2 separate regions of the Homo sapiens genome follow, and region 1 is linked to region 2. The links are contacts of gene promoters, found by promoter capture Hi-C in blood cells and fetal thymus (Javierre and others, 2016). All regions are on one chromosome and are shown on one strand. The core of a region is centred on a gene start or on the middle of the fragment in contact, and the rest is flanking DNA. Distances in the headings are between cores, read along the strand shown.

The links. Contacts are between HindIII fragments. The CHiCAGO score rates a contact against its expected background, and 5 or more counts as called.
Region 1: a contact is called between a fragment that was not itself captured here and the fragment with the promoter of PTPN21 in region 2, in 1 of 17 cell types (naive CD8 T cells). The highest score is 5.3, in naive CD8 T cells.

Annotation. Positions count from the first base shown.
Region 1 is chr14:88,868,182-88,871,761 of GRCh38, reverse strand. It overlaps TTC8 (tetratricopeptide repeat domain 8), which reads right to left. Exons shown (of 15, transcript NM_144596.4): 11 at 1,564-1,703; 12 at 39-213. Among named protein-coding and RNA genes, the nearest start is that of TTC8, 45 kb to the right of the region's middle. The HindIII fragment of the contact is 1,878 bases long and covers 542-2,419 here.
Region 2 is chr14:88,553,714-88,557,085 of GRCh38, reverse strand. PTPN21 (protein tyrosine phosphatase non-receptor type 21) reads left to right here and starts at 2,079. Exons shown (of 19, transcript NM_007039.4): 1 at 2,079-2,435. It overlaps LOC124903405 (proline-rich protein 2-like), which reads left to right and starts at 296. Exons shown (of 2, transcript XM_047432047.1): 1 at 296-323; 2 at 2,026-2,429. The coding sequence starts at 296. The coding sequence ends at 2,390. RefSeq lists a silencer at 2,072-2,121. The HindIII fragment of the contact is 3,064 bases long and covers 1,190-3,372 here.

The sequences.
Region 1 (3,580 bases), core at 231-2,730, 320 kb before region 2:
CTTTCTATAACAGAAATTATATCAGTAAGACAACATACCACAGCTACATGTCCCAAGTTGTACCAGACATCAGCTGCCTCTTCTTCATTTTCAGCCAAAGAAAGGGCACGTTCAAATGAGGTCAGAGTCATATCATACTGCTGGGCATAGAAGCAACACAGCCCCAGATTGTTAAAAAGCTGGCCGTTATAAATGCCCATCTGCAGCAGCCGCCTTTTCAAAAAAGAACACACAAATTTTGGTGTCAGACCAACTTTGTAAGTTTTAAGACATATATATATATATTTTACACAGTTAAAAATGAATTCATCTTGTGATTTTTGATACTCCTTAAGAATATAAATACGTGTTATAGTAAATGAAAAAATGTTTAAAGCAAATACAAACACCTCTCTTTCATAATGGTACTAGTCATGGGGAATGTGTCTAGAGACAAAGACAAACAACTGATCTAAGTTTTCTCCCCAAATGCTTTGTTAGAGAACCAAAATAAGAAATAGTCACAAAAAGTAACGCCCACACACTTCAGCTTTATAAAGCTTTGCTGCCCATAGGGTAAATTCCTAAAACCTAATCTAATTTGAGGACTGCGTTTAGCATTAACCTCTACGTTTTCAGCTGACTGGATCCCGTTTTTGGCTCGCTGTACTTTGTGCTTCAGCTGTGTCTACTGAACTCCAATGAGCTTCCACTGAGGAAGACAAGACCATCAGCGGATCCTTACATTATCCACTTAGCTCTCACACTGCAGCTCAAGAGCCCCATTTGCTTCTATGCATAATTAATCCCATGGGACAAAGGACAAGCGAGTTCATATGAGCAAATGAAAATCCAGCCCAGCTGCCGTGAGAAACCCATGACCCACTTTGGGGGTTGGGGAGTAGAGTCAGCTGCAGGTGCACAGAATAGTGTTCTTATTATTACATTTTATGCCTCCAACACATATTTGGAAAGAACCCTTGTCAGCTGCCAGTCATCTCTTTCTATATTACCCAAGGGCTAAGGAGGAAATCATAATTTAAAAATTAATTTCAGAAGTCATATGTAGGATGAAATAAGTACTTAAAAGAGAATCAGTGAATATAATTTATTTAGACTGAAAAAATATTGGGACAAGAACCAACAATGCTGCACAAAACAGGTGATTCTGTTTCAGGTCCTCATCAAGGTTCAGAACATGAGGCCAAATGCTCTTTGCAAATCTTTTCACCTTTCAATTTCAGTGTCTTTATGTTTAATGGTATTAACGGAGGCAATGATGATGATAAGTTTTAAGTAACTATTCAACTTATTGGTTGATGACAAAATGGCTAACACATACAATGACAATGAGGTTTAAAACTCAGTCAGTTGTCCAGTGTGTTTCTGCAAGATGCCAGACATCTGCATGTTTCCAAATTATTGGATGTCACTTCAATGCTCATTATATATCTCAGTGTTGACATTTGAGTTTCATAAAGACATGGCCTATACCTTATTTCTCTATACTTTCATTCCATCTTTCTTATTATTTTATCAATATTTCACAGGAAAGTGGTTCTAAGAATTGGATGTGAAGTGCACCTGTAAAACCGGAGAGCTATTTCTGGCTGATCAGAATAGAAGTGGTTGCTTCCAATGCATGCGATGGCTTCCACATGAGTATTGTCTTGTTTCAAAACTTCTTTGTAATATTCTGCTGCTGATGACATATTGTTCATTTCCTATTCTCCATCAAGAGAGAAGAGCAATATTTTATTAATATTGGACAAAAAATTATTTTTTTCTGACTGATTTAAGTCCATTCATTCAATAAGTATTTATTGAGAGGCTACCATGTGCCAGACTCCATTCTAGACCCTGGGGATACAATATGAACAAAAAGAGAAAGTCACTGTCCTCAGGGAGGTGACATCTGGTATGAAAGGCAAACAAATATGTAATATAAGAGAAGGTTAAGTGCTGTGAAGAGAAACAGAGAAGGAGAGAGAGAGCAGGGAGAGTGTGCTTCAGAAGGGGTGGCGGAAGGGGCCACTTTGGAGGAGGTGCTATTTGAAAAGACCTGAGTGAAGTGAAGGATCAAGCCCTGAGCATATCTGGGGGAAGCTCACTCTGGGCAGAGGGAAGAGCAAATGTATGAGCCTGAGAGGGGAACGTGCTTGTCACATATGAAGAACCACACGAAGGTAAATGAGGCTGGGAAGAGGGAAAGTGGCACAAAAGGAGATGAGAGGCAGCCAGGGCCTTTGTAAGCCACGGTGAGAACTTCAGATTTTTTTTTTTCTAGTTGAGAGAAATCCATTAGGAGAGGAATAACAATCATATTTGCATTTTGAAAGAATAACTTGACTGCTGCATGCTAGACATACCAAAATAGGAAAGAGTGGTAGCAGGAAGATCAAAAGTCCAGGAAAGAAAAGACAGCAACCAAGACCAAGCTTAGAAATACATACAAAATGAAAAACTAAATAAACCTTCTACAGTTATTATATATTCTTTCTAAAATACTGATAATCATAAATGTATGCATCTAATGTTATCAATGAATGTTATATTTCTCAAGTCCACCTTCAAGGCCCTGTTCAGGCTCCACATCCTTCATGAAGATTTCCCTAATGCCTTCACTTCACATAGCTGTCTTCTACCTCTCAACTTACATGGTGTTTATTATGTGAACTTGTTCTCATTAGAGAAGGACTCATACTTTTCATTAAATTTTAATCATATCAAATATAAGAGACTCTACTGATTGTTAAGAAGCACCATGCAGTGCTTTTTTTAAACAGAATTTTTATTTGATCCTCACTGATATTTAGACATACTCATACACAGATTGCATCACAGATCACTCTTTTGCATACTTTGTGGTAAGAACATTTAAAATCCACTTTTAATATTTCTTAAAAGTGCTCCACTATTGTCTCCAAGATTTTCTTCCAACCTATGGACAGTCATTCTGCTATGCTGATACCTGTGTTTTCTTGATTTTCTTGATCTTACCAGCAGGTGTCAACAAAAGCTTTCAGGCTACAACCAGTAATAATTACCAGGTTCACCATGCTCCCAAGAGTAATTACCCAAGTTTCCATATAAACAGACTATGACAACTACATGGCAACTGCCACTTGGCCATAAAAAGATGCTATCCATTTTAAGATGTATCTCAAGTTCAGAGATGTTAAAATGTGAAAAAAAATGTGTTTTTAGAGTCCATGAAATATGGTAAATTCCTTTAAAGCAAGATCATATGTGCCATTTCTTAGCACAAAATTTAGTGTTCTAGAAACTGAAAAATTAATAAACAAGAATTAAACAACTCTAAAAAATGTTCTTAGCTTCCCATGTTTCCATTAGAACAGAGGTTCTCAAACGTTTTGGTCTAAGATTCCTTTTAAACTGTTAAAAATTGCTGAGAAGAAGTTTTGTTTATGTAAGTTATATAGATTAATATTAGAAATTGCAACTGAGCTATCTTTAAACATTTACTTATTAATTCATTCTAAATAACACAAAATAAACCTATTACATGTTCACATACATAACATTTTTATGAAAAATAATAAGCTCTTCTGAGTGGAGAAAGTCTGTAGGTTGGTACAAC
Region 2 (3,372 bases), core at 830-3,329:
AATTTTATGTCTAATATTTTGAAGGTGTTATTCAAGTGCCTTCCCATGAATGTTCCTGCCAAATTAACATAGCTGAGGGAAAATAGGGCTTAGGTACTTGGTCAGTAAATGACATCTGTGGACTGTGAGGGAGGAAGTTCAACTCAGTTGTCTAACATCTCTTGGGTTTTATGGTCATTTTCTATTTTTAAAATTCTTTTATTTTCTTCCTGATTCAATTAACAAGTTTTTATTTAGTGCCTACTCTTTGCCCAGTACTGTCCTAGGAATCCTAGGAGATATAAAAGAAGCCGTCATGAAACAACTTTTACAGTTCTTGCCAAGTGTGGAGATCACTGTGGAATGGTGTGGCTAGAAAGTCATCCTGGAAGCAGAGTCTTACTTGCAGAGAAGCAGAAGGCTTAGACAAGTGGAAAGAGGGCAGGAGGGGCTGCTGGCCAGGGGCAAAGCTTGACAGGGGCAGAAAGCGATATAGGTGGTCAGAGAGGCCCGTTTGGAAAGTCCCTATAGGTCAGGCAGAAGAACTTAACCTTGGGAGTCCATTAAGAGTGATAAGAGAAGGAAGCCTGGTATTAGCAAGGAAATAAGAGAGAACTGAGAAACCAGATGCCAGGAGACCACCCTTGTTGCAATAATCCGGATGTAAAATGATGAGGGTTTGGATTTAGAATGTTCCAGGGGGAACAGAAAGGAAACAAAGAATTCATGAGACATTTCAAAGGAGGAAATACCAGGTCTTGATGACAGGCTGGAGATGATAATGGGAGAAGTCACACATGATTCCAGTTTTTCTACCTTGGGAAGCCAGCAAAGTGACTTCTTTTTAGATCTCTTTTCTTTGCTCACACACAAATTGACCCCCTCATAGAGTTCAGTTGAAATATCAATTACAAACAGAATTGATCTATTTTTTTTCCCTTAGAAACACAGGTAATCTTATTTGCCTTTAGCTAAACGACCCAAGATGCACCTTGCTGGGCTTTGCTCTTGGATAGCACTCATACCTCTATGACAATGCTCCCCACTTTGGCCTTGTACTGCGTGTGTGGTGTGCAGGTGCGTTTATCACCCACTAAACCAAAAGTCCGTGTTGTGCAGGGACCACGTCTCATGCAGAGTTAAGTATTCAAAAGTTTTTGTTAATTGTTTAAGAAAATGAGATTTACATGAAACAATACTTTAAAAAGCTTTCCAGAAACAACAGCATTAAAACAAAATCACTGAAATTAAAATTTACATAAATTAAAAGGTTCTGTGTTCCACATGCCAAGAAAAGATCTTACACTATTGTAATAGTGGTAGGGTCACACAGTTTTATTCCTCAGCTTAAGTGCTGCAATACAGTAATAATGCAGTACAAGAATACTGTATAATAAACCTTAAACGAAACACTTCATATATACTTTACACAAGTTATTGGATATTGCTTAGTATTTATTTCCCCCACCCCTGCTGTGCAAAGATATTAATATCCCTCTTTTATAGGAGAGGAAACAGGTAAAGAGAAGTTAAGAAACTTGCACAAGGTCATCCAGCTAGTAAATGTTGGAGCTGGGATTTGACAACTTTGTCAAGTCTCCATCCTTAACAGTTCTGCTCTATATTGCATAAGCAGACAGCTCCCTTTTGGGGACTGACAGGTTATTTGAGGCATATGAACCATTTTTGGTGGGGGGGCTTTCCCACCCAGTACTGGAAGTGTCTAGTTATATGGGGCATAACCTTAGGAGCAAGCAGGAAAAGAAGAAATGTATTCCAATAGTGTTCAGAAATATACCAGAGTAAACGAATAACCATCAATAACAGCATTTTACAGCCTACCTAATAACACAGGAATAAAACCCTTTATCTGGAACCTAAATAATACCCCCTCCACTCATTTTATTAAAAGCCTTGCTTTATTTGGAAACTCTTAAAATAAGTGGTCATACGATTAAAAAAAGCAGCGGCGCGCCCCCTCCCCGGCGGCCGGGCGCAGCTGTCCGCGCCTCCCCCGCGCGGCTGCCCGCATTCCAACTCTCTGAGGTCACGGGCCGCCGCCGCCTCCCCGGATCCGCCCGCCCGGCTCAGGGGGAGGGACGCCTGGGCCCGGCCGCCCCGCTGCTCCGGCCGCGCGTCCCGCGTCGGTCCGACGGTCTGTCCGTCCTCCTGCCACCCCCCGCCCCCACGGGGCTTCTTTGTGCGGCGCTCCTCGCCGGCCGGTCCCACCTCCAGGCCTCGCCCCTCGCCGTCGCCACCGCCGGACTCTGCCCAGGGGAATGGTCTGCGAGCCGGGTTTTTGGAGACAGGAAGTGAGGCGTGCGAGCCCCATGAGCGCGCCGCGGCCCGGGCTGGCGTGCGGGTGCGGCTGCGGCGGCCGCGCGGCGGGGCCCCGGGAGGCGGGTCGCTGAGCGGGGCGCGCGGCCCCGAGGATGCGGGAGCGGGAGCGGGAGCAGGTGAGGGCGCGGTCCCCGGCCGGCGGGAGGGGCGGGCGGCTGGCCCGAGCGGTGGGGTGTGTCCACTCGCCCGGACCCCGGAGCGCGCCCGCGGCCCCGGAATCCCGGAGAATGGGGCGCGGCGGCCAGACCCGTAGCGGGAGCGTAACAAAGAGAAAAGTCTTGTTTTTCAGGTTCGCTCTCATATACTTGAGTAATTTCTAAAAGGAGTCTTGAACTTCTATTCCGAACGCCCTGGCCGATTGTTGCGGGTTAATTCTGGATCAGGGTTTTAAATGTGTTAGGCATATTTGTGCCTCTCAGAATATATAAACGTGAAATTCGCCAGATAACTTTGGCGAGAAGGGGCGCAGGGAAGGACTGTTTGGTAACGCCTGGGTTTGTTTTTGGAGTAGAGTATTTACTCTGGAAACAAGAATTCTTGGATCTGCAAATTCCGACTTGTGATTTCTGCAAATCCTGATTAGATTGGCCGCTCTTGGCATGCTCGTCCTATTTTCTTTTTTGCTGAGAAAGCCTTATACTAATAGCGTATGCTCACAAACACATTCAGAACATTCGTGTGCTCCAAGTGACAACTGCTGTATGCCTAATAGTTGCTGACAGTTTATTTATTTTTTTAAGTTTGGGACACGACAGTAATTTTACTCTGAATATAGTCCGTTTCGTTTCTAGGGCATTTTATTCTGGAGCATCTACGCACAGATGTTTTCTCCGTGAGAAACATGGGTTTAATGCTATAGCTATAGATATTACTCTAAAAATGTCACATACTCTCTCCTTTTAGTGCTTATTTTATTTTAAAGCAACTTTGGCAAAATTACATGTGGTAAGGACCTTAATAGGAAAGGGGAAACGCTGTAAGATTGAGAGGTAAAGTGTATTTGAGGAACTTTTGGAAAGGGTTGTAGAGAGGGAAAATTAAAATGAATTCACA